7 separate regions of the Homo sapiens genome follow, and all the other regions are linked to region 2. The links are contacts of gene promoters, found by promoter capture Hi-C in blood cells and fetal thymus (Javierre and others, 2016). All regions are on one chromosome and are shown on one strand. Each heading gives the region's core, a stretch centred on a gene start or on the middle of the fragment in contact. The rest is flanking DNA. Distances are from core to core; before and after follow the strand shown.

Evidence for each region. Contacts are between HindIII fragments. The CHiCAGO score rates a contact against its expected background, and 5 or more counts as called.
Region 1: a fragment that was not itself captured here is called in contact with the fragment with the promoter of SNX14 in region 2 in 7 of 17 cell types (total CD4 T cells, total CD8 T cells, naive CD8 T cells and 4 more); the score reaches 16.7 in total CD4 T cells.
Region 3: a fragment that was not itself captured here is called in contact with the fragment with the promoter of SNX14 in region 2 in 4 of 17 cell types (total B cells, naive CD8 T cells, naive CD4 T cells and 1 more); the score reaches 6.1 in total B cells.
Region 4: a contact is called between a fragment that was not itself captured here and the fragment with the promoter of SNX14 in region 2, in 6 of 17 cell types (activated CD4 T cells, non-activated CD4 T cells, total CD4 T cells and 3 more). The highest score is 12.4, in activated CD4 T cells.
Region 5: a fragment that was not itself captured here is called in contact with the fragment with the promoter of SNX14 in region 2 in 6 of 17 cell types (total B cells, non-activated CD4 T cells, total CD8 T cells and 3 more); the score reaches 15.9 in total B cells.
Region 6: a fragment that was not itself captured here is called in contact with the fragment with the promoter of SNX14 in region 2 in 6 of 17 cell types (non-activated CD4 T cells, activated CD4 T cells, monocytes and 3 more); the score reaches 10.2 in non-activated CD4 T cells.
Region 7: a contact is called between a fragment that was not itself captured here and the fragment with the promoter of SNX14 in region 2, in 5 of 17 cell types (M0 macrophages, non-activated CD4 T cells, M2 macrophages and 2 more). The highest score is 15.7, in M0 macrophages.

Annotation. Positions count from the first base shown.
Region 1 is chr6:83,161,075-83,165,177 of GRCh38, forward strand. It overlaps DOP1A (DOP1 leucine zipper like protein A), which reads left to right. Exons shown (of 39, transcript NM_015018.4): 38 at 1,716-1,845. PGM3 (phosphoglucomutase 3) reads right to left here. Exons shown (of 13, transcript NM_015599.3): 13 at 3,799-4,103. Among named protein-coding and RNA genes, the nearest start is that of PGM3, 30 kb to the right of the region's middle. The HindIII fragment of the contact is 5,842 bases long and covers 1-4,103 here.
Region 2 is chr6:85,591,714-85,595,257 of GRCh38, forward strand. It overlaps SNX14 (sorting nexin 14), which reads right to left and starts at 2,145. Exons shown (of 29, transcript NM_153816.6): 1 at 1,866-2,145. The coding sequence starts at 2,005. RefSeq lists enhancers at 636-1,221, 1,222-1,805, 1,806-2,389, 1,838-2,007, 2,318-2,437 and a silencer at 2,068-2,287. The HindIII fragment of the contact is 2,215 bases long and covers 1,408-3,544 here.
Region 3 is chr6:83,196,927-83,200,987 of GRCh38, forward strand. RWDD2A (RWD domain containing 2A) reads left to right here. Exons shown (of 3, transcript NM_033411.5): 3 at 1-2,009. Among named protein-coding and RNA genes, the nearest start is that of RWDD2A, 5.6 kb to the left of the region's middle. The HindIII fragment of the contact is 3,139 bases long and covers 712-3,850 here.
Region 4 is chr6:83,055,897-83,059,611 of GRCh38, forward strand. It overlaps UBE3D (ubiquitin protein ligase E3D), which reads right to left. Exons shown (of 10, transcript NM_198920.3): 2 at 1,930-2,126. Among named protein-coding and RNA genes, the nearest start is that of UBE3D, 8.1 kb to the right of the region's middle. The HindIII fragment of the contact is 7,857 bases long and covers 1-3,715 here.
Region 5 is chr6:83,074,959-83,078,859 of GRCh38, forward strand. The region is part of intron 1 of DOP1A (DOP1 leucine zipper like protein A); the gene reads left to right. Among named protein-coding and RNA genes, the nearest start is that of DOP1A, 9.2 kb to the left of the region's middle. The HindIII fragment of the contact is 2,053 bases long and covers 951-3,003 here.
Region 6 is chr6:83,177,548-83,181,353 of GRCh38, forward strand. PGM3 (phosphoglucomutase 3) reads right to left here. Exons shown (of 13, transcript NM_015599.3): 7 at 2,263-2,420; 8 at 1,126-1,209. Among named protein-coding and RNA genes, the nearest start is that of PGM3, 14 kb to the right of the region's middle. The HindIII fragment of the contact is 1,054 bases long and covers 2,027-3,080 here.
Region 7 is chr6:87,742,872-87,746,588 of GRCh38, forward strand. No RefSeq gene overlaps it. Among named protein-coding and RNA genes, the nearest start is that of AKIRIN2, 42 kb to the left of the region's middle. The HindIII fragment of the contact is 2,193 bases long and covers 562-2,754 here.

The DNA of each region.
Region 1 (4,103 bases), core at 1,481-3,980, 2.4 Mb before region 2:
ATCGTAGGAATGTGGCCAATATTAACCAAGACACTTACCTTCACAAAAGTGATAACTATTCTGTGGTGCTTTTGGAGGGACATGAAATAGTATGCTCATGATACTGACTTTTTATCTTCCATGACAAGAACCAAAATCAGTTTATCCTCTTTGTCAAGATGTTAGTTACTACAAAAGGGAAGGAAACATGCCGTTATATTAATTAGTTTTTTAAAAACTTACATCTTTCTAAAAATAAAAATCTATAAAGTAGAAAGTGTAAAGATTTTAATTATCTTGAAAGAGTAATATCTTAGCATGATCCATATTTGGAAAGTTCAAAATACTTGATAAGTTTACTGTATATAAATTTAAAAGTATCCATGTAACTAAAAGGTACTATAAAGTTCGAAAGATAGCAATGAATTGGTAAAAGATATTTTCGATGTATATGACAAAAGTCTAAAATGCATAATGTATAAAAATAACCTGGTAGAAAAATGAGCCAATGAGCAAGACAGTTAATAATTTATAGGATGGTTTCTAAACATAGGAAAAACTGCTCAGTTGTTCTCCTGAGTTTCCGATTAAAATTATAGATAACCATCAGAATGGTAAAGATCTGAAAGTTGCTTTCCTTTTACTTTTAGTAACAGAAGCATTCTTATTCTTGTTGGAAGTATACACTGATATTGTCCAATTGTTCAGAGGTTATATTTACCAAAATTTAAAATATATATCTTTAAGCCTATAATTCTGCTACATCCAAGGATTTATCCTGTCTCTATATTCTCAGATGTGCACAAAAATAAATAAGCATTACTTAAGAGTATCCACTGTGGTACTTTGTAAGTGCAAGAAGTTGGACAATCTAGGACATTGGCTGTGGTGTACTACTATGTTGCTGTTAAAAAGAATGAAGTTTTATATGATGCAGAATTGTCTCCAAGATATGTAATTTATATCAAATAAATTATATCAAAAATATATATCCTACATGTATAATTAAAACAGGCAGCAATCATGTTTTTTTAAAAGAGAGGGTTGGTTGTGTGAATATATACTCTTTTGGGCATAAACTCTCTGGACGGACTTACGAAGCTGACAACATTGATGAATCCTATGCGGGGAGGGGAGACTGCCTTTCTTTGGTATGCCCATTTATACTGTTTGAATTTTTCCCATGGTCGGATATTACTTTTACTTACTTATGAAAGACAAAATTACAAACAAAAATACAAGAGAAGTGCAAAAAAAGCCCTTAGTTTTCTTAAATTCGTTCAATTTTTTACTCCTTTACTATGCAACTAGGGAACATTTGGCCAGTTATATGTTGAAAAATCAAGTCTTTGTCAGACTGTTATGTTGCAGTACAAAGAGATAAGCTAAATGAAAACATCTTCCTTTTAAGAACCTTATGCCTGTTCGCTAATGAGAAAAGAAACATTTGTTGAGTACTTGCTTTGGACTCATGAAAAAAGTAATGATGAGTACTTTACAAGTTTTCATATTTATTCCTTACAACCTTATGAGGTAGTTAATAGTATCTTTATTTACTGATGAAGGCTCAGAGAGGTTAAGAAACATACCCAAAGTGACAAGGCTACGAGTGGCACATCTGGCATTTGAATTTTTATAAGCAGTGGGGTCATGATCTTTCTACTACATTATGTGGCCTAATCTTAGATGGCACAAAGTCTGTCTTACTGATGCTGATGTCATTATTCTATACATAGGTACCGATGGGCCTTTATTCCAGAAGCCTCAGATGATTCAGGTTTGGAAGTCAGAAGGCAGGGTATACATCAACGAGAATTTAAACCTTACGTGGTACGACTAGCAAAACTTCTTCGGAAAAGAGCAAAGGTATCGCATTCTTTTGTGATTGTTTTGTTTTACATCACTACATGTTGCATTAGTGAGGTATTTATTAAATACTTCCTGGGAAACTGAGAACGTTATCAAGTTGAGCTATTTTGAAAACAAGTCCCCAGTTTTGAGAGTTAATGTCCATAAGCCTCATATTTCCAGACATTAGAAAACATATCGTATGTATTTTAAAGGAATATGCGGTTATTCATTTTTTTAAAGAAGAAAAAGGAAGGCTTTTGTACATTAATAACATCTACCTTAAAATGTTTTCCCCTCAAAAAAGAAAATAAAAACCTTGGAACCATACATGTGAGTATTTAAGACTGTAGTCCTGAACACTCTTCGTGTCAAAAACTTGAGAATGTAATATAATGTTCATCTTAATGCCATGATGACAAACAAAAGTATGAGTTGATTGAAAAAAATACAGTACAAAAGGGATTTTTAGAACCTGTCAGAGTTGTTTCAACAGAACTAATCAATGGGTAAGAAGATTATACATTTTAAATTTGTAAAATATGAGTCAGATTTCATTGAAATTGAATGAGCTAGACCTCGATCAGAATAAAGGAAATAATCATTAGCATTCATTCTGTTTATCTATATGAAATAAAATATATATGCTAAAATTCATTTTCTAAGTATTTTTCACTTTCTGATTATAACCTACATTCAGAAATGTGTTCCTTATCCTGATCCAGTACAGCTATATAACCGAATCTAAAGTTTCACAAAACAGTTCTTGCCCTTAACATGAGATATTTTCCTTTTTGTAGTTCACAGTGATGATGCTGAGTACAGATTGCAAGACCCCCACAACCTGCAGTTTTTAAAACAGTGCTCAGAGTTAAACTGGCTTTATGACTCTTTAATATAAAGCATCTTCTTAGAGAAATTATTTAAGGGGAAAAGTGGGAATTTACTTAAAACATATACCATTAAAAAGTGTAGGAAAATAAAATTTGTAAAATATTGTCTTATATACTTTTTATCTTTCAGTATGCATCATGCTAATTTATTACAGATCTTTGCCCAAGAACCTACCAGCAATGAAACTGGTATGCTCACCATTGGGCCTTTGTTATTAACCTTTTGTCAAATTTTCTTTTACATTCAACAAATTTCAAAATCAAATTGTACAATTTGGGAGTGATCTAGGTTGTCTGGTGAGATCTAGTATGCAGTGTGTGCTTTGAGTGCTCAGAAATTTTCCAGTCTTCTGGAGTCCTCCTAATCAGGCAGCAGCTCTTAAACTGAATTCCATAACTATAAAAATGGAATGAAGAAAGTGATTAAAGAGATTTTGCTGGAAGGAATTTACATGAGAAAACTTGACTTAAATTCCTAGTTGCTTCTGTAGGGGCTTAATAAAAGGACAGAGATGAGGATGTATGCTGGGTCCTGAGTTCAGGGTAGGACTTTGGTACTTTCAATTTGATATCTCAGAGTTTGGGCAAGTAATCATGACAAATCCAGAAGCAAATATGACCCCAGGCACATGTCCTTTTCTGTTATGCCTGCCTTTCATTAGTAATGAGAATTTTTATAAGACCCCCCTCCTTTATCTAAATAATAAATATGACAGTCTTTTGCCCAAAATTTGTCCCACAGAATAAGAAAACTATTTTGATTGAAAGGCATCTTCCCATCCAAATCACCTTAAACAAGGTCTTCATGGCCAAGCATACTTTTCACTGGAACAAAGGCTGTGAGTTCTCCTCTTTCCTTCCACAGGACAAGGAGGAGGACTTTAAGACAGTGATTTTGGAGGGATTGGAGATGGCCAAGCATCAGGTGAGGGTGGCTGTTTCATGCTTATGATATGGCAGCAAAAGTTGCCAAATATTGAGACACAAACCCAGGTCTGAATGTCAACAAGTACAAGGGAGGTAAACAGGAAGGAAGTCTTTTTTCAAGTGTGGACTGGTGAAGTCAAAGGAGAAATCATTTGTATGGAAACATTTGACTTTATTTAATATTGAGACAATACATATAGTTCTGATTAAGAGCATCAGAAACTCTGAATCAAGTGTATTCTTCTTGGTCAAGAGCTTAATAAAAGTCCCTCTCTTAAAGGCTCATCTTGATAGGAATAGAAACAAAAGGTTACCCCATAGTTCTCTTACATTTGGAAGTTAGCTATATAGAGGGTACAAGGATATTCATTTTCCTTCAGGACAAAGTCATCTCTGTACGCCCTTTATTGTTGAATTGCAGTTTGATTTAGGGGATTAGAGGTGGTATGGTACCAG
Region 2 (3,544 bases), core at 895-3,394:
AAGTTAATCATATGGGCTGCGTGCAGTCGCTCACGCCTGTAATCCCAGCACTTTGGGAGGCTGAGGTAGGTGGATCACTTGAGATCAGGAGTTCGAGACCAGCCTGGCCAACATGGTGAAACCCCCGTCTCTATTAAAAATGTAAAAAAAGTAGCCGGGCATGGTGGTGCCCACCTGTAGTCCCAGCTATTCTGCAGGCTGAGGCATGAGAATCACTTGAACCTGGAAGGTGGCTGTTGCAGTGAGCCGAGACCGCATCACTGCACTCCAGCCTGGGCAAGAGAGTGAGACTCCGTCTCAAAAATAAAAATAAAAATAAAAATCATATGAAGCTTACATTTCTTTCATACTAAACCTGTTAGTCTAGCTTGGAATACCTTCCAGATGACAGAAAGCAAATAATAATTAGTGTTCCCTCTGTTAAGGATCCCACTTCTCCCACACTCCTACAGTTCAAACATCTCACCATCACAGAGCACACTTCTCAGTAAAACATCAACTACTATTTAAGCTCAATAATATTTAAACCAAGAATCAACAAGAAAGCAAGGCCACTTTTAGGGAAGAAATCTAACTTCAACATAGTCACAAATAATGGTTACACCAGAGAAAAATGAAGTTACCAAATTCCTTGCGCATTCCTCCCTGTTGCTATCCTTGGGAATCAACTACCTTAAGATAAAGAGTAAGAATGGTTGCCTGTTCAAAACATCAGAGAAAACAGCTTGCGGATGCTGTCAATGAGAACTATCTCAGATTTCTTTCCACCAAAAGCAAATCTGGTGTTAATTTTAATGGAAAAGTCTCCTCTACTACCTATTGCATCGCAACAATTTCTTGAAATAGTAAAATGAAGTAAAACAAGTTTATTTCGGGGGCAGAATCTTCTGATTTCAAAATGTCAATTGAATTTATCAATTTTAACCTTTCGGAATATTTCAGGTTTTTTTGGGGAGGGTGGCATCAAGTCCTCTTAAGAATATTATAGGGATGTGGCCGGGTGCGGTGGCTCACGCCTGTAATCCCAGCACTTCGGGAGGCCGAGGCAGGCGGCTCACGAGGTCAGGAGATCGAGACCATCCTGGCTAAAACGGTGAAACCCCGTCTCTACTAAAAAAAAAAAAAAAAAATACAAAAAAATTAGCGTGGTAGCGTGGTGGCGTGGTGGCGGGCGCCTGTAGCCCCAGCTACTCGGGAGGCTGAGGCAGGAGAATGGCGTGAACCCGGGAGGAGGAGCTTGCGGTGAGCCGAGACCGCACCACTGCACTCCAGCCTGGGTGACAGAGCGAGACTCCGTCTCAAAAATAAAAAATTCTAAGGATGTTGGGACGGGTACCACTTTGCTTTCTGATTTCTGTCCAACAAATCTTTATGATCGTCTGTTTTATTCAACAATACTGCGGGAAAAGCTTCAGCTGCAAGCTGAGGGGGTGGGAGGTGGGGAGATGGAAGAACGCGCTGCAGGTGTGCGGATTCTGCCTAAAATTGCGGCTACGAACTGGACCTTGAACACTCCTCCGTCAGCTGACTTGACTGCCTGTGTACAGTCTCAATTTGAGCCGACACACGGATTTCACTTTTGAAAAGCAACGAAGATGAAGAACTCGTTTTGAGAAATGGATGAGAAAAAGGTAGCTCAGGAGACGAAGCCTCGGGAAAGGAGGCAATCAACCCCACCCCACCGGCCTGTGCTTCCGGCCTCGACGCTCCGCCGTGCTCCCCGAGGCCGCTCCTCTGCGGAGCTCGCTCTCCCCACTGGTCCCCAGTCCCGCAGCTACGCGGCCTCCGCACGGTTAAGCAGCACGGGCCGGGCGTCTGCACCTTCGGAGAAAAGCCGCCGCCCAGGCTCCGCGCTGCGGCGTTACCTGTTAAGAAGCAGGGAGGCGGCGCTGAGACAGAGCAGCAGGAAGCAGAACAGCGGGTACTGGCGGCAGATCTCGCGTCCCACGTCCAGTCGCAGCCGCTGCTTCAGCTTCTGCCCCATCGTCCGCACCCAGGGCACCATCTCCGTAACGGCGAGGCCGAGACTGCGCTACTGGCTGAGGCAGAGGTCAAGGCGACCCCCCATCCACACCTCGCGTCCCCGCCCCACCGACTTGGCGGCGCACACAGACGCCTACCGGCAGTTAGCCGCCGCAGGCTGAGGTCGCGTCCGGCTGGGCCCAGCCCCACGCCCCCCGCCGCGCGTGCGCGGCCGCGGTCCCCAGCCGACCAGAGGAACGGCCGTAGAACGTGCCCGAAGTCGTCACCCAGCGCAAAGCCTCTAGCGTCTCGCCGCTCCGCCCTCCTGGCCGGAGTAGCGCGCAGTCTTCCGTGGAAACTCTGACAACACTGGCGACCGGCCATTTCCGGAAATCAAAGGACAGCCCCAGCACCCAGTAACTGCCTGTATTGCGGAGGAGAGGGAAGAAGGTTGTAGGGAGCCCGGAAGAAACTACAGCACCCCCGTAGCCGCCGGGCGCTGCCTGAGGGGCAACCGGAGCTCGTGGAGCCCGCTGGGAACTGTAGTCTTCGTGACACGAACCCGCAGAGGGATGGAGCGGGTGGTAGCGCTTCCCCGACCCCGCAACGCTCCGCGCCTCACCGTACACTCGGCTCCGGGTGGGAGCAGGTCCGAGCTTTGCGTGACGCCTAAGGGAGAGGGGGATAGGAGGACGCCTTTGAGTCGGTATTTTAAAAGGGGTGTGTTGGGGGCTGGGGGGGTGGCGAGTAAAACAGCCCTAGAATAAAGACTACAACTCATCAGGCCGCCACCCCACCAACAAAATCTCTTTTGCGCGCTCACGGGCAAGGGTAGAGCTCAATTCACGCCGGCTCCGGGAGCCCAACCAAAATCCGAGTGCTTGGAAGAGGCAGGTTGGCAGATTAGGTAAAATCCCTCTTATAGAGTCTCATGGGGTTTTCCCTTTACTAATTCATCACATTTCTAAATTTTTTTTTCTGTATTGTCCGCTACAGTGAGAGATGCAGGAAGACTATTATCGCGAAAATTTACTTAGGCGGTACAGACACTAAGCACTTTCATTTGACCTTCATGCATTCACCCCATGGTGTAGGTACAGTACTATAGTTTCAATCATTATACAGGCAAATTACTGAGACAGAAAGGAACTTAGGATCATAAAACTAACAAAGCCGGAATTTGAACACGTTCTAAAGACAGAGCCTGTGCCTGTCATCTCTCTTTCCTAGGATCTTATCCTTCAAAGTGGGGAAACAAATGTTTTTTAATGATGTATGTAGTTTCATGAATATTTTCCCGTATTACAAAAACATGGATCTTTAATGATGCATTATTATCCTTTATCAGAATGTACCATCCTGTTCCATTATTGCTAACCACTAAAGTCCATTGATATTACCATCCTTGATGATAAACCTATGCACATTTCTAATTATTTAGAATCAACTTTAATACAATTACTGGGTCAAAGGGTAAAAACAAACATTCTTGATACAGTCAAACTGCTTTGTAGAATGGTGGTACCAACTCCACAGTGGTGTATAAAAGTAAACAATTTCACTGATCCTCACGATTAGCTAT
Region 3 (4,061 bases), core at 1,031-3,530, 2.4 Mb before region 2:
CTGCCTGCCTCGGCCTTCCAAAGTGCTGGGATTACAGGTGTGAGCCACCGCGCCCAGCCCGTTTACTTCATTTCTTACTTTAAACTCCTATTTCGAGTGTTTTAGTAAAACTAGATCCTAATAGCAGTGGCAAAGGACTCATAGACATGAAGTCCCACGAGTTAAAAGATGACACACAATGCTATGTGTTCTGGCTGTTTATATCAGTTCATGATACTAGCAATCCTGATACCAGTATTAGTTTAATTCTTATCCAGAAAAGATAAACACATGGTTCCTTGTCTACAAAGTATTCGCCTGTTTCAATCCAACCTTTGCCTGTGTGCCAGTATGCATTACTATAAAGGGCAAGAGACTGTTGAGGGGACCAGTGTGGATATCTGCATCATTACCTTATTGGGAAAAAAAAAATCTAATTCTACAGTCCGATGATGTTACTGCCATCTCCTCTGAAAATTCCAAGCTCCACAGGCTTCACCAGGCTTTTCAAAATGAGAGTTTATTTTAATGATTAAAAACCGCTATTTAAGTAGCTCTTGCCAAGCCTTTTCATTACCAGGTCTCCATCCCTCCCCAAGTATTTCTGCGAGTCTCATGTGCTAAGAGATGTCTTGAGCAGCCTCTGCAGCTTTCCGTGTTTCTGTGGTCAGCTACTGCTGCCCTTTCCCGGGAGGCATTCCATTCTCCTACTGGGTCCTCTCAAGATGCCAAAGCTTGGTGCTGGGATTTAGGAACACATCCTGTTAGATGTCAGACAGTGCTGCTTGTGCTGGGGAGCCTACAGAACTTCTGATGAAACTACCATCTGGTTTTACCCTCTGTGCCGTGGATGCAGACGTGTCCTTGGGCTACAGAGAGGACATGATGGAGCAGGAGGCCCTATCCCAAGGAGGTGTTAGAACTGGGTCCACTTTGTACTGCCTCTTTCTTCTTAGGTCACAATGAGTGTCCTCTCAGGGCACAACTCAGATCTTCAACCCATGGCTCGCTGTAGGCCTGCCCCGCCAGGTCCTCCAGCTTGCCATTCATGTTTCCATCCTAGCCTTGGTTGTGCTGGAACTCAGGCTGGAGCCTGACACTTTGCCTATATGCAAAGGGAAGAAATAGGACTTACATTGCCAAGGAATCACTTCTTAATGTTTGCCAGCACTAAAAACAACAAAGTATAGGAATCTTTTTCCCCCACAGTCTCCACAAAGCTATCAATAAGTATAATTCGCATTTACAAGTTTTAGGCCTTCAACAGATGTAACTCCATCCAAATGAATCAATATGTGCCATCAACCTACCTTATAGAGGTGTTTTTCCTGATTACATGAGCAAAAGTAGCTACAGAAAGATGGGTGTAAAGAAAAGGCAATAAATTCTAGGTTATGAACTCTACTGCTTCTGGAGCTATTTCTGAGATTTTTCAGAACCTACTTTTTTATAAATAAGTCTAATTTGAGCATTCTGCAATACTTTTTTTCCTATCAGGAAAACTAATGCAGATAGTATTATGGGGACGTGTAGGTTTTATAGAAAAAAAAAGTACATGTATAATTCAAAACTCAACTTTGTATGTATAGGAGTCTGCTGGTTGTTTGCACAGCCTGATATGAGCACATAATAAAAGTCCGTCATTCCCCAACCCCCTCCCCCTACACACACAGCTTATTTTGGGAAACTGCCCCTTCCCTGTGTGATTTGGGAAGAGAAAGTGATAGGAATCAAGTTGTCCTCTGGCAGCCTCCTGGAGAGATGGCTGTGAGCTCTTGCTGCTTAAACCTCTAGTGCCACCCTCATTTCTGACCTACTGAATGCTCAGCTGTTTGGCATTTCCTTTGAATGACCCAGCATCTTCCCTTTTGTTGTCGGAAATCAGAATCAGTCTCTATTGCTTGTAACTTAAGAATCTGGATATTCTGTTTATTATATTCTTAAATGGTTATTTGGAAAATGTGCTCATTTATAAAAGTTACAGTGTCTTTTTAAAGTTTGCTGAAGTAAATGAAGCATATCGTCAAGTATGTTCTTTGCTTTTCATTCCTTACTGGTCTATTATGTGTTAGGCTAAGAGCTGAGGACACCTGCATAGTGAATTGAGTAGGCCAGATGAGTTGGCAGACCACAACACAGGGACCTCTAAAACATTCCTTATTAAATCAAACATACATTGCCTGTGAACTTGAGCGTTCACATATAACTCCTTACATGCCATCCATCCCCTCTCAGAACCTGAGAAGGTTCTGATGGTGTCTGTCTGCAGCCTTCATGGAACCCTTTTGAACAGGTTTTTTTCACTTGCTTTTATCTCAAGTAGCCCAGTAGTAAGTCAAAAGAATAGTTATTGTCTGAAGAGGGCACAGTGTTGCTCACACTTCCTGGTTTTATACATAATCCTGATTTGCCACAGAAACTCTGAGCCCATTGGCTTTCCCTCATAAGGTCCACATGGTGGAACTAATTTCACCATAGCCTGGACCAGCTAGAGAGACCTCTCTTTCTGATCCCAGTCAAAACTAGATGCATTTGGGTCAACCCCCGAATGAATTTGAGCAGGGTACACAGAATTTAAGTAAGCCCACTGTATTAGCTCATTCTTATGCTGCTAATAAAGACATACCCGAGACTGGGTAGTTTATAAAGGAAAGAGGTTTAATGGACTCACAGTTCCACATGGCTAGGGAGGCCTCACAATCACAGCAGAAGACGAAGGAAGAGCATAGGGATATGTTACATAGGGGCAGGCAAGAGATCTTGTGTAGGGGAACTCCCCTTTATGAAGCCACCAGATCTCGTGACACTTATTCACTACCACGAGAAGTATGGGGTAAACCACCCCCATGATTCAATTATCTCCACCTGGTCCTGTCCTTGACACATGGGGATTATTACTATTCAAGGTGAGATCTGGATAGGGGCACAGCCAAACCATATCACCCACCAAACCCTGGGAGTTCTCCTTAGTTATAGAAGGAACAAAGTACACAATTTGTTCCTCACAATGAAGGGGAAATCCCAGCATGTACCAGACACTGGACTTCTACAAAACTTGGCTGCAGGCTCTGTGCTTTCATGGGATTTATCGTTCACCCTCTGGGATGACACATCTTACTAGGCATCCAGGAAACATGACTCCATTCTCCAAGTCCAATCAGAATATCACCTGGAGGCATACAGCATGCTGCCCTGTATAGTGGTAAGCTGATCAAAGGTCTGATATCGAGACTGATATTCTGACATAGAAAGTTAATGTAATGTTGGAAAAAGACAATCTACATTGCTGCTTACTGAGATAAAGAAAATGCTTCAAGTGGTCTTTACTTACTGGAATAAAGGAAAAACAAAAAAGCATTGACCAAATCAGTAGCCAGCTACTTTCTGATTTGCTCCAAGAAAAAAGAACTTATATGACAGCAGCTGCAGTTGGAATCACCATCTGCTTAAGTTTCGGAATATGTGCAGCCATTCTATTTTTTTGAGACGGAGTCTTGCTCTCTCGCTCTGTCACTCAGGGTGGAGTGCAGTGGCCCAATTTCAGCTCAAAGCAAACTCTGCCTCCCGGATTCAAGTGATTCTCATGCCTCAGCCTCCCAAGTAGATGGGATTACAGGTGTATGCCACCACGCCTGGCTAATTTTTGTATTTTTAGTAGAGATGGTTTTTCGCCATGTTGGCCAGGCTGGTCTCGAATCCTGGCCTCAAGTGATCTGCCCATCTCAGCCTCCCAAAGTGCTGGGATTACGGGTGTGAGCCACTGAGCCCAGCCTGTGAAGTCATTCTTAGAGACCCATCTGTCTCCTCCTACATATGCCAAAGATCATGCTAAAGCAAGATGTGATAAGAATCACACTCCTGCTGCTTTCAAAGCTTTTGATGGTGGGACTCATCTCTGCAAATCTCTTCATACTTCCTGAGAGAATAACCCTCTTTTTATGGATCAGGGATCCAATGTGGGTATATTGCCACAGAGGATGAAGAAATAAATTATAACTCTTTACTGGAAAAATAAGTGGGGGATGGGTTTATTCCTATAGCATATACTTTGTTCTATAGACCACAGTGGTTTCAGAGACCCG
Region 4 (3,715 bases), core at 563-3,062, 2.5 Mb before region 2:
TCATTCCACAAATATTTATACACCATCTATTATATGGAAAGCACTCAGGCAATTAAGTGCTGAGGAATCTGTTTTGCATACTCTTTCATGCACTATGGAACAGGACTTTGATAATTTTCCTTTTCAGATATTTGAGCAAAATATATTAAAAGTGTAAAGAAATAGGAGACCAGTGAACACAAACAATATGCAAATCAGCACATAGCAGTCAATTTATTTTGTCCTATAGTTTAAACAATGTTTGCAGATTTAAATTTTTAAAAATAATTCCAGTTTTGATATTTGTATATTCAGTTACAGAATACAGAATATGGATGGGCAAAAACCCAATACTATGTCCCTGGTGGTCTCTATTCCTCCATCTCTAAAATCACAATCCCAGAAAACACTCCACTGTGGCTTTCATGCTTGCCTTTCCCAAATCTCAGAACCCAACACAAAATTCCTGCTGTGGTTACTCTTGTGAAAGAGGTAACTGTTGTGAAGGAGAAGGTGATGACAACACAACATCCAGCCTCCCATGGCCTCTTCCCTGAAACAACACTTTCTCTGCCCATTATTAGGTGCAATCAGGGAGTCTACTTCCCAGCTCGGTGACCCTAACCTTCTTGCTATGGTTATTCCAACAGTCATTCCTAGTATTTATCCTACAACATTTAAGTGCCATGACATCTCTTTTCCCTACCCTTTGTTCCTAAAACTAACCCTGCCCAACTCAAACTAGTTATTCACTAACCCAGGACTTGAGCAAAAATTGCTCTCCAGTAAAAAAGAAATGAAACCCTCTCTATCTTCTCTTTCCTCACAAAAGCCAAGAGCACAGACTCAGGGGAATACTCAACATCTCCTAAATGGCTCTTCCAAACACTCCTCCTGACCCCATCTCCAGGATCCACACAGCGCAGATGAAAGGTTTATTACAGATGAGGCAGCAGCGAAGTGTCAGTGTGCAGCTGAAAGAATTACAATCTTTCTCTGATAATAAACATCACATAAGTCTTTTACAGCCTATTTCCCCCTTTGACATAATTTTAATCCCCCAAAGCATATATTACGTACATTGTAATAGATGTAATGAACCAATAATTTTATACAATAAATAACCCTGAGGTCTTAGAAAAAGCAAATTTTCCACTGCCTTACCGAATCATTATACCAGTTACAAAATGTTGTAAATATAACAGGCATAGTAAAAGTTAAAATCAAATTAAGTATCAAACTCAACTGTAGGACCTTTTGTGTACTGTTTTCTCTATTTGGAACAGTCCCCACATGGATAGGATTTCCTTATTCAGGACTCAGGTCAAACATTACCTCCTCAGAGTGGCCTTCACTGATCATCCTTCAGCCAACCCTAGTCACTCCCTATCCCATTATTCTGTTTTATATTATCATAACACTTTTCTTAATATTTAAATTGTTTGCTCATTATCTGCTCCCACCAATTAGAATGTAAGCTCCATGAGAGCAGACACCTCCCCTACCTTGTTCACTCTGTATCCCCAGAACCTAGATTGATGCCTAGCACATAGCACAAACCAAAATATTTGTTGAATGAATAAATTTCCATGTAATGCTTTAAAATCAATCAGGTCTTATACAACTGCCATCTGATTTAATCTTCCCATCTGTGAGCCAGAAAATTTTACAATTAAAGAAACAAGGCAGTGGGTAAATGGGAAATCTCTATACTTTCTGCTCAATTTTGCTGTGGGTGGAAAAGAAAGAAGGAAGGGAGGGAGGGAAGAAGCCTCAGAAAGGTTAAGTAACATGTTCAATTGCATACAGCCAATAACTGGCAGAGCTGACAAAGACCCTAGAGCTTCTCAACCCCTTCACCTGGGAAAAGTTCAACTTATCAAAGGAAAAATCACCTTTGGTTTATAACAAAAAGGTAAATACAGCAGCAGAAGTGCTAATATTACTCACTTGTGCCTAATTTTGCTTGCGTCTGCAGTCGCAGGTGCAGTCCATCTCCAACAACAAACTGTAGCCCACGGCAAGAGGAAGGTACAAGCCTGACCTCTGCTGGAAGCTGGATTTCTGTGCAGCCTTCAGGGGTTTTCATCTGGAGTGAAGATGGCATTATGGAAATATTCATGGGCATACCTCCTTCTTTCGGTTCTCTGGTAATTAAAAACAAAACCCAAACAAATTATTTCTCACAATGAAAACCACATGATGAAAGAAACAAAAATGGCCAAGGATCTCTTTCTTCCTCTTCAATAGGAGCTCTAAAGTCACTGCCCCAGAAAAACAGCAGCAAGCAGATCATAAAGGAAAGCAACCTACACTAGATTTAGATCTGATCAGAGTGCCCTTCACCATCACCATAATATGCAAGTCCTGGGACAGATTTTTGGTTCTTCCTTCTGAGAAGAGCACTAAAATAATGTTTTATAGTAAATCAGAGCAAAGTACTGTTATTTCATATACAAGATTTTAATAAAGAGACCAAGATTCAGTGAAACAATGATACAAGACAAAAACCTGTCAATTTTAAGAATAAAAAGAATTAATGAAGAAAACGATACAGTGATGTATGAATATCAGGTGTGAAAGGACTTACTAATCCAATTCAGAGCAAACACAAATTACTCAGTATAGGCAATAAAGAGTAAAACACAGTCCCTGTCAAAAGCCCCCAGGCATCAAAAGTATAGAGGGGATAAAGGCATCTATGGAAATGACCCTCCTCTGAAACTGCAATACGCTTAGCAATGCAACAGAGGTACAAAGTACCATGGCTCCCTCTTAAGTGCAGACAGCAGGTCATCCACATGGTGTCAACTAAGTGCAGACAGCAAGCCATTTGCTTGAGTGTCATCTGAGTACAGAGGGTAGACCATGTGCTCAGGTGTGGATCTTGGTTAGGCCTTAGAAATCTGCCTTAGAAAATCTTATAGCTACTTTCTGGCTAGTTCCTTTTCAAAGCATATGGATCTGCACTTAGTTAGCAATACAGAATATTAAGCATCTGAGTTTTTTGCAGGGATGACAGTTTCAAACCTGAGTCAAAAGTTCAATTTCAAGAAATGGTGTTTAAGAAATAATGATCCTCTAAAACAAGAGTCAGCAACTTTATTTCTGTGAAAGACCAGATAGTAAATATTTTAGGCTTTATGAGCCATGTATGGTCTCAAAGTAGAATACATATTATACTTTTTATTTTTTAAAAAACAACCCTTAAAAAATGTAAAATCAGCAGGTCGAGGTAGCTCACTCCTCTAATCCTAGCACTTTGGGAGGCTGAGGTGGGAGGATGGTTTGAGCCAAGAAGTTTGAGACCAGCCTGGGCAACAAAGCAAGGCTCTGGCTCTACAAAAAAATAAAAAATAAAAAATCAGCTGGGTATAGTGGCACGCACCTGTAGTCCTAGCCACTCAGGAGGCTGAGATGGGGAGGATCACTTAAGCCCAGGAGGCTGCAGTGAGCCATGATCACGCCAATGCATGTCAGCCTGGGCGACAGATCAAGAACCTGTCTAAAAGAAAAAAAGATACAGAAGAAAAATCCAACTCTTAGCTCACAGGCTGTACCAAAACAGGCTGCAGGTAGGATTTGGCCAATGGGCCATAGTTCTCTGACCACTGCTCTAAAGATAACACAATGTCCATTTGCTACCTCAATGACTTTCAAACTAGACTGTGTAGAGTTGACACTTCCAAGTGCCGCAAGAGATACCACTGGGTTCCTAAGTCCCCATTGCCACCCC
Region 5 (3,901 bases), core at 727-3,226, 2.5 Mb before region 2:
TATGATGAAAAGACTCCTTTTCCTGGGCCCTCATCCATCCAGTTACCACCTGTCTCCTAGGAAGTAATGTTTAGTTTCGTTGTGTGTTCTTTCAGATATGTATTGTACATATGCAAATTAATATATATTTTCCCTCTTTTAATATGATAGCATATTATAAACACTATTCTGTGCCTTGCTTCTTTTAGTTAATATATGTTAGCACTTTAAAAATCAATGTATACACTTAATTCATTATTTTTACCAACTGAGAATATTCTATTGTCATTCAATTTTTATAATGTTTATTGACTGTTTACCGTGGGTCAGGCACTTTTCTAGGAGCTGGGGATTTGAGAGCTAAAATGACAGATGAGGTCTCTCTGTTATAGCGATTACCACCCCTGGAGTCACAGTTCAATTACAATAAAGCAAGGTAAGTTCTATGATAGAGGAAGTATAGCATGTCATGGGAGTTCACAGGAAGGAGGTGTATATGTGAGTGTTAGGGGAATGGTGGAATGGTCCTGGAAGACTTCCCAAAAGGGATAAAATCTGAGACCTGAAGGATAAGTAGGTACTTGTCAGGTCAAGTTAGGATTTAGTGTTTGAAACAGAAGGAATAAAAGGGTGGCTCTCAAAAAATGCATTTAAAAATTATTGCAAAGCTATAGTAATCAAAATAGTATGGTACTGGCCAAAACAGACATATAGATCAATGAAATTGAATGGAGAGCCCCGAAATAAACACTAGTTTATACGGTCCAACAGTGTTTGACAAGGGTGCCAAGACGACTCAGTCAGGAAAGGATAGCCTCTTCACCAGATAGTGTTGGGAAAAACTGATATCCCTATGTGAAAAAATGAAGTTGTATATCTTATACCATACACAAAGATTAACACAAAATGGATTAAAGACCTAAAGATAAGACCTAAAACTATAAAGCTCCTAGAAGAAAACATAGGAGAAAAGCTTTATGACATTGAGTTTGGCAGTTTCTTGGATATGACAGCAAAAGCACAGACAATAAAAGCAAAAATAAAAAATAGGATTGTATTAATCTTAAAACTTTCTGTGCATCAGAGAGTACAAGAGAGTGAAAAAGCAAACTATGGAAAGGGAGAAAATATTCATAAATCATGTGTTTGATAAGAGGCTAATACCCAGAATATATAAAGAAAGAGCTACTCTTACAGTTCAATAACAACAAAGTAACTGAATTTTAAAATGGGCCAAGGACTTAAATAGACATTTTTCCAAAGATGATATATAAATGGCCAGCAAACATATGAAAAGATATTGAGGCCGGGTGTGGTGGCTCAGGCCTGTAATCCCAGCACTTTGGGAGGCCGAGGTGGGTGGATGATGAGGTCAGGAGATTGAGACCATCCTGGCCAACATGGTGAAACCCGGTCTCTACTAAAATACAAAAAATTAGCTGGGCGTGGTGGTGCACACCTGTAGTCCCAGCTATTCAGGAGGCTGAGGCAAGGGAATCGCTTGGACCTGGGAGGTTGAGCCAAGATCGCACCACTGCACTCCCGCCTGGAGGCAGAGCAGACTCCATCTCAAAAGAAAAAAAAATGTTGAAGATCACTAATCATTAGATAAATACAAATCAAAACCACAAAGAGATACCTAACCTTACACCCATTATGATGGCTACTATTAAAAAAAAAATAGTTTTGGCAAGGATGTAGGGAAATTAGAAACTTCTTGGGCACTGTTGGTAGAGATGTAAAATGGTTCAGCCCCTGTGGAACACAGTATGGCCATTCCTCAAAAAAAGTTTAAAAAATTACTCTCTAAATGCAGCAATCCCGCTTTTGGATATATCCAAAAGAGTTGAAAGCAGGATCTGGAAGAGGAATTTGCACACCCATGTTGATAGCAGCACTACTCGTGATAATCAAGAGGTAGAAACAACCTATGTGTGCATCTATGGATTAATGGATAAGCAAAATACAGTATCTACATAGAATGAAATATTACTAAGCCTTAAAAAAGGAAATTCTGACACATGCTATAACATGGATGAATCTTGAGGACATTATGCTGAGTGAAATAAGCCAGTTATAATAAAAAGACCCATACAATATGGTTCCCCTTACATGAGGTATCTAAAGTAGTCAAATTCATAAAAGCAGAAAATAGAATTGTTGTTTAATGGGTATAGAGTTGCAGTTTGCAAGATGAAAAGTTCTGGAGATTGGTTGCACAATAATGTGAATGTACTTAACACTACTGAACTGTACACTCAGTGGTTAAGATGGTAAATTTTGGCCAGGCTCAGTGGCTCATTCCTGTAATCCCAACACTTTGGAAGGCCAAGGCCAGAGGATTGCTTGAGCCCAGTTGTTCAAAACCAGCCTGGGCAACATAGCAAGACCCCTTAAAAAAAAGATGGTAAATGTTATATGCTTTAAAAACAATTTAAAAAGGACTATAGGCTGGGCACAGTGGCTCATACCTGTAATCCCAGCACTTTGGGAGGCCAGGGCAGGAGGATCGTTTGAGGCCACAAGTTCAAGACCAACCTGGGCAAGAAAGTAAGACCCTGTCTACAAAAAAAAATTTTTTTTTTTTAATTAGCTAGGCATGTTGGCACCCACCTGTAATCCTGGCTACTCAGGAGGCTAAGGCAAGAGGATTGCTTGAGCCCAGGAGTTAGAGACGTCAGTGAGCCATGATTGTGCCACTGCATTCCAGACTGGGTGATAGAATGAGACCTTGTCTCAAAAAAATAAAAAGGACTTTAAACTTCTAGAAACATGAAGCATATGTACATTTTTTACATTTTATACTGTCATGTAAGCCATGTTTCTAAATCAGGGGTGTCCAAACTTTTGGCCTCCCTGGGCCACATTGGAAGAAGAATTGTCTCAGGCCACACATAAAATACACTAACACTTAACTATAGCTGATAAGCTAAAAAGGTCCATGCATAAATCTCTTAATGTTTTAAGAAAGTTTACGAATTTCTTGGGCCACATTCAAAACTGTTCTGGGCTGTGGGTTGGACAAGCTTATTCTGAATATTGAAAAAGATACTGATTTAAAAATTAGGTCAAAGGGGTTGAATCACTAGGTATCATGCAGAGACATAGCATTTTGAGTTTGAGTATAATTTAATAGAAAATTAAATTCTATCCACAAAATTAATAGCATGTGTAAAGGCACTGAGATGGGAGGGAGCAAGTCTTGAACAGTGGACAATTGCCTAGGTTTTGCTTAGCTGGGACAGAAGTGTGAATAAGATTGAAGGAATGGGTCTATTTTATGAAGGCTTTATATGGCTAACAGCTTGCATTTCATGTCTAAGAAAATGAATATCACAATTATAGCAGTAATAAGAGCACTTCTTATACGCTAAGTTAACACTGAGCTAAAGAGCTTTCCAGGGATTATCAAATGTACTTTTCTGAGCTTCCAGCAGGGAACATGCTCCACCTGCTTTTTCCTGTGTAAAATTAATTGGCTCTTGGAGAAGGTGAAGGTAGTGAAAATAGGTTGTTGACATAGTCCAGGTATAAAATAGGCATGAATTAAAGACCATTCTGAAAAATGCACATTTGTAGACTTTATTAAACTGCTCCAAATGAAATCGCACAAGTACAAACTTGTGTAATTAGGAAGATGATGGTGCTGTTGACAGTAATGAAGGAAAACAAGGAAATTCAGAAAATAATAGCAGTGCTTGACAGACTTTACAGCATTTCTTGGAGTGATATTCTGACAACAGAGGTACTGTGAAATGGAAAGTGAGGAGAGGTGTAGTAACAGTTTATGGTTTATCAGTATTTTGGAGGGTGCCTATGTTTTGTAGAGATTTTTTACAATAATTAAGCAATACCTTATTTTGGTTCTTATTCTATTACGTGCTTCAGAATCTGCAAAAATATCTAGAGTTAATTCTCTCTT
Region 6 (3,806 bases), core at 1,304-3,803, 2.4 Mb before region 2:
CGCTCACCCTTTAATATAGCCAAGCGGACACATTCCAATACAATTTGCTAAGATAAAAGATGGCTAATGACAAAAATTCTCTCCTTGACCAAACTTTAGTTAGGTTTAGGTGGGCCTGACTAGGCCTTGTCCTTAGGCATGTCTTCCAATAGCCCGATTTTAATAAGAGTCATGCTAAGTGAGCTTAGCGAGAATCCCTCATCCTGATACATGACCACTCTTGACATCTGATCTGAGTTCTCATTCTCTACCATCCCCCAGGTAATATGTGACCGCCCTGGCCTACCTTCAGCAAAAGTCCTGTTAGATCAGTTTAGCCAAAATACCACCCACTTACCCTCATGTTTCCTCTCAGTAATTTTTCATCCACTGACCACCCCCCACACACCCTGCTCCTTGGCTATAAAGCCCTACTTTTCCTTACTATATTTGGAGTTGAGCCCAATCTTTCTCCTACCACTGCAAAACTCCATCACATTAGTCCCTGTACCTATCACAACAGTCCTGAATCAAGTCTGCCTTACCATTTTAACAAGTGTCATGAATTATTTTTTCTTTAACACTAGTCCTCAAATAGGAAAACTTGAAACCACCATTTGTCACACACATAGTTTATCCTAAACTTACTTGGTAATAGGGATGGCCACCTGTGTTAACTGCCCTTCTCTAAAGGAGTAATAAAACTTTTCATACCTCTGTGACAGGTAGATAGTTACAAATTGGACGCAAACACCTAAGTTAAACTCTCCTGAGACTGGGAGATAGGTGAGCTATCTTCCTTGATGTTTATATTTGAAATTGGTGACTCTAGGCCCTTAAAGAAAAGTATTCCTGAGCTATAAAACTGGCTTATTAGGCCTTTAGAAAGACTTACATTCATTACAAAGGCACAGAGAAAGAATTCCAAGTTTTCTAAAGGAAAACTCCAAGAAAAGGAAGGAAAGAAGTTTTCCTTTATTCATCAAGGACAACTAAATTTTTTCTTATTTATTTCTCTTTACCTTTACATGAACAGCAGCTCAGCTTCATGCACTACAACATAATCACTTTTATGAGGGCAGTATCTTTCTCACAGAAACATGATCTTAATTAAGAAACTACCAGAAAACAAAAATGGTTCAATACCTTCATAACTTCTTCAAGATACCGTGTTGAACTTCCATTTGCATATGCAGTTTGTACAACACCAATATTCAAACTTTCTCCAATCTAGACAAAAACAATGATACTTAACTTGCCATCAAAAGTATGGTCTACAAAAACAAATATAATGAGAGTTCTAAAGGCTACCAAAATTATCAGCCAGTTCAGTTGTGCCTTAGTTTATGCCAAAAATGTCTGACTGAAAATTTACATGTATGCCAGGAAAAAAGCCTAAAATACATTTGAACACTATTTAAAACAATTCTATGAGAATTCCTCTTTTAAGAAGCCTGTATCTCCTGATCTTCACCTCTTTAATTTTTTAAATAAAAGTATCTGGCCAGGCACGGTGGCTCACGCCTGTAATCCCAGCACTCTGGGAGGCCAAGGTGGGTGGATCACCTGAGGTCAAAAGTTCGAGACCAGCCTGGCCAACATGGTGAAACCCCATCTCTACTAAAAGTACAAAAATTAGCCAGGTGTGGTGGCATGCATCTGTAATCCCAGCTACTTGGGAGGCTGAGGCAGAAGAATTGCTTGAGCCCAGGGAGGCAGAGGTTGCAATGAGCCGAGATCACGCCCCTGCACTCCAGCCTGGGCAACAGAGCAACACTGTCTCAAAAAAAAAAAAAAAAAAAATCTATTAAATTCTTAAAGTATGCTGTTTCCAGATTATAATAATTTCCAATTACATTGTGTACTTAAAGCTAGCCTGAGATTTATTTCTAAAATAGCAAAATGAAACAAATCTCACATTACTAAGCTTATCATAATCAGTTAATATATCAGATGATGAGATTTCCTATTAGAATTTAGGGCTTTTATGGAGTGACCACAGAACTGTCATCAAAGTTTCAATTATGATGGAAGCAAAACTTCCTAAAGCTTCAAATCACAAAACTCAGCCAGTATAAGGAGGAAAAGAGTACCTTCAGGTTCCAAAGCCAATGCCTCAAATGTTCAAATGACTGGGTATTACCACTGCTCTTTTTTTAATTTTCTGCCCACTAATGTAAAGAATTTGTCATAAATTGTGCCCTTCTGACAAATGATTGTAAAATATGGAACTATTTCACTACTAAGTCTTGTTTTAGAGGGTAGCCAATCCCCCCACCATACCTCCACCAGGAGCTCTTTAAGGAAACTGCTAATTAACGTTGCTATCTTGTCTCCATCTATGAGATGAAAGTGGCCATCTGCATCATGGTAGTAATAAACAATTCTGTCTGCATCTCCATCAAAAGAACAGCATCTTTCATTGGACTTAATTTCCATTCCTAGCACACAGGATAATTTAACATGCATTTCAGTCTAAGAATTTATTATAAAGAGTTTTAGAATTTTCTCTTAAAATTATCCACCTAAAAATCAATGTCTTAATCTTAAATAGTGTATAATCTTTAAATAGTACATAGTTTATTAGTGGTTTTTACAGGTCAAATTCTTTCACTGCAAAGTGAAAAAAGGAGCATTCAAAATCTATGCTGATATTTGCTATAATACTACCATAAAATTCCACTTTATAAGCAGGTTGGTTTGGCTAGACAGGTGTCCCATAAAGGTTTTTTGAAAGCTACATGTATTTCTGAATGTAATTTACCTAGGACCGTGATCTCCTTTACATAGAAAAAATAATCAGCACTAGATGATGTATGTGCTTTAATTCTAACAGAAATGATTTTTATTTGTTCATACCACCAATAAAAAGAAACACTGATAATTAAGAGCAAAGAATTATAACTTTGAGAGATAACTGGCCTGTGAAATTTACATAAAGTTGCTGAAATCTCAGCAATTGTCACATCAAATTTATTAGAAAATTTGGCTATTCCTTAGCCATGACAGCAGCAGAGTGACAAATTCAACATGAGACAACTAAGAAGTAAAAGGCTTTTGTCAGGAATGGGATCATAAGATTGATGAAAGGACATGATGCAAGCTTCAGGAAAGCAAGGACTATGGTTTTGTTCATACTGTAGTCCCAAAGCCTAGAGCATAGAGAGTAAGAGCTCAGTATTTAAGAAATGGATAAATAAGTGGCAGAACTGAACTGTCAAGTAAATGTCAAAACAAGCAATTCAATGAAAAGGAGCTCAAATTGGTTGACTACACTGACATTTTAAATGCTTACTAAGTAAAGCATAATAACATGAATGAATGAGGCAACTGGATGAAGTCTGTAGAGTTCCAGAATGCATGTCCTATTTTAGGGGAGCAGCATCTATCTGACTGTAGTGGACTAATGCCATGTGTGAACATTTTCTGATTTTGGTAAAGAGATGCTAGAGATTCCAATATATAAGAGAAGTCACGGAATTTTTAAACAGTGGCACACAGACAAACACACAAATGCAGCCAGCCAAACAAAACATATCTGCAAGTCAGGTTTGGCCTAAGCAAATAATTTAGGGTCTATAATGCAGATAAATCCAGAACACCTCTTACTACAACTAAAATCTGAAGAAAAGTCTTCCTCCTATTCTGCACTGAGTGGAAAACACTGATTGCTAACAACTGTATAAGCAGAGTTACATTTGCTTTCCATAGTGTATTTAATTCAGATAAGGTATCTAATAATACTTACTATGCTCCCCTGTAGATCTGTGATTCTCAAAAAGGGATCCCCAGACAAGCACTGGGAACAAAGCCTGCAAACTTGATAG
Region 7 (3,717 bases), core at 408-2,907, 2.2 Mb after region 2:
GATTTACATGCTTGTCTTTCAACTAGCCTGGAAGATGCTTCAGGCCAAGATAATGTGTTTTATTAATCATTTGTATCCTCAATCTGCTCATTAGTGAAATCCTAGGAACACTACGAAATACTACCTTCCACCACTCCTAACACAAGTTTTTAAAAGATCCCTTCGCACTTAATGCTTTTCTTGCTTTTTCATATTCTTGGTTTACTCTCCCTCTCCCTTCTGAACTAGAAGACAATTTCAAAAATAAGACTGTATTAGTTATCATTTTTAAAAATTCTTTATAATGACAAAGACAATGCTCTGCATTACAGTAATAGATTTTTAAAAGAATTAAATAAGAGAAGCCCCTTTAGAGTTAAAAAAATATTTCTAACTTCTTTAATAATCAGAATATCTAATGGCTATCTCGGTTCTATGTAAACCCTAACAAGAAAAAGATAACCTCAGTTCATAATGCATAAAACATGCAGCACTGAGAAAAAAGACCTCTGAAGTACAGGGGTGTTCTATTCTGTTTTGTTTGCTTCCTTATTGTTTGGGAGAGGAGACAGCTAACAATGAAGCTTTCTTTAGCATTCAGTGGAAAGAACGTCAAGAAATCTTGTTTTTATTTTCTCTTGAAAAATGAGAAGCCATATTCCCTCCCATAGTTACAAAGTATCATCCTGTCCTTGATCTCTGTTTCTAGAATGTTCTCAATTCAGATGGTTTTTATCTAGATTCAGTTGGAGGCCTGGATGGCCTTGGTTCTGATAACTAGAAATCTTGTGACAATCTCAGAAGTCTTCTGGGGCAGATTTCTTTGGTTTTGGGACAAGATTTGACCAGCCCTGAATCTGTGACAGGTCTGGGAGGGGCAGGGGAAGAAATGAGCAGAACCTGGAACAAGGTCTACACCTCCGCCCCCTTACAACTTGACTAGGAAGTTCTTTCTGATGGTCCCTCATTCAAGAGTCAAGATTACTACACATTAAAATTTTAAAAAGACAATGGAAGAGCTCCCAGCAAAATAGCCTATGTGGCAGTTTAGAGGGTGACTTTCTTCTCAAAAAGAGAAAGTGGATGTAAACCAACTCTTCTCCTTTCTTTCTCTGACCTGTAAAGGCAGAACTGCCTGGACAGGACAAAAATGCCTGATTTTACTGAACAATCCTATTTCTTTCTCTTCTTTTCTCTTTCTTTCTTTCCTTCCTTCCTTTCTTTCTTTCTTTTTTTTCAAGACAGAGTTTCGCTCTTGTTGCCCAGGCTACAGTGCAATGGCACGATCTCGGCTCACTGCAAACTCCATCTCCCGGGTTCAAGCGATTCTTCTGCCTCAGCCTCCCGAGTAGCTGGGATCACAGGCGTGCAGCACCACACCCAGCTAAGTTGTATTTTTAGTAGAGACAGGGTTTCTCCATGTTAGTCAGGCTGGTCTTGAACTTCCGACCTCAGGTGATCCACCCACTTCGGCCTCCCAAAGTGCTGGGATTACAGGCATGAGCCACTGTGCCCGGCCATGGACGATCCTATTTCTTTTTTTCTTTTTTTATTTTATTTTTTGAGACAGAGTATTGCTCTGTCACCCAGGCTGGAGTACAGTGGTGCGATCTCAGCTCAAACTGCAGCCTCTGCCTTCTGGGTTCAAGTGATTCTCATGCCTCAGCCTCCCGAGTAGGTGGGATTACAGGCACCTGCTACCATGCTAGGCTAATTTTTGTATTTTTAGTAGAGACAGGGTTTCACCAAATTGACCAGGCTGGTCTTGAACTCCTGGCCTCAAGTGATCCACCTGCCTCGGCCTCCCAAAGTGCTGGGGTTACAGGTGTGAGCCACCACCCTCAGCCTGGATAATCCTATTTCTTTCCTTTTTTTTTTTTTTTGAGACAGAGTCTTGCTCTGTTGCCCAGACTGGAGTGCAGTGGTGCAATCTCGGCTCACTGCAACCTCCTCCTCCTGGGTTCAAGCGATTCTCCTGCCTCAGCCTCACGAGTAGCTGGGATTACAGGTGCACGCCACCATGCCTGGCTAATTTTTGTATTTTTAGTAGAGACTGGGTTTCACCATGTTGGTCAGGCTGATCTCAAACACCTGACCTCGTGATCCACCTGCTTCAGCCTCCCAAAGTGCTGGGATTACAGGCATAAGCCACCACATCCTGGCCGACAGTCCTATTTCTAAGAAGGTGATCCACTCATGCTGAATCAGATAACACAGTAAGCTCACAGTGGGCCCTCAAACAATGGTCATTGCTCTGATAGTTATAATGCTAATGTTGGTTGGGTTCTCTGATACTGGGACACCAGGCTGTGATCAAATCCTGGGGGACCTCTTCAGCAGGAGAGCAAATAGGTTCTGAAGGAAGAGTCAGAGAATCTGGATTTCATGGCATTTATTTGTCCTGAATGCATTCAATTTTTTTTTTCTTTTCTTTTGAGACAGGTTCTCACTCTTTTACACAGGCTGGAGTACATTGACATGATCATGGCTCACTGCAGCCTCTACCTCCTGGCTCAGGTGATTCTCCCACCTCAGCCTCCCTGGTAGGTGGGACTACAGGCACGTGCCACCATGCTCGGCTAATTTTTGTATTTTTTGTAGGGCTGAGGTTTTGCCATGTTGCCCAGGCTGGTCTCAAACTCCTGGGCTCAAATAATCCTCCCACGTCAGCCTCTCAAATTGTTGGGATTATAGGCAAAAGCCATTGCACCCAACCCACATTCACATTTTACATGTCTCAATTAAATAGCCCACCAAATTTGGAAGGAAGAACTAAGCTTTTAAAAATGTCTGAAAGAGGTACATCCTGGGAAAACTCTCCCTCCTCTCAGTATGGAGGAGGCTTCTAAGGGAGGAGGTCACCTCCATCCTTCCTAGAGAGAACAGAAGACACAGGGGTGTTTGTTTCACCTAGGAGATGACAGCACAAATTACTGTTTTCTCTGTTAACAAATTTCTGAAACATGTTAGTGCCTTGTCTGTTGCCTGAAAGGGTGGAGGGCAGAGTATAAAACTGCAAATTGCTAGTTAGGTATCCGGTATTCCAGTTTTAAGAAATCTGGAATTCATGATTATGTTATGTTTAATTTCAAATTTAATGTTAAATCTGGAAAATCTAAAATATTTGTGACAACAAATTAAATGACAAATGAACTTGAAAATAAATGCAGAAAGATCAAGAGTTAAAAAAAAATTCAGTTAATCCACTGTCTGTTTACCTTGTGGCTCTCTTTTCTAAGTTAACTGGAAAATATTTAATCACATGCCTTTAATTAAAGCTCTGTACCCGTGGAGAAGCACAAGTAGGGTTTGTTTCACTTAGGCAAGAATGTCCAATGGTTCAGTTGCTAGAAAATTGGTATTTAATAACATCTAGCAGATGTTAACATTCTAGAAGAGATTCCCATTTTTTTAAAACTTGTGGAGAAAAAAACTGAACCTTACTGAGAGGGAAACAGCCTTCAATATCTTTTCTCCTCCTCCTCCTCCTCCTCCTTCTCCTCATCCTTCTCCTCATTCTCCTCCTTCTTCTCCTCCTTCTCCTTCTCCTGAGCATATTCAACATAATTGTCTGGGTGGGATGGACACTCTGAGATCCATTTGTGAGAAACACTGACTAATTTCATTAACTACCGCTAAACCAACCTGCAGATGTCATATGATAAACAGACCAGAGGCAAGGTCCTGTGTCATGGGGGAAGGCACCACATTGGGCTGGCAACCAGGGATCCTGCTTCT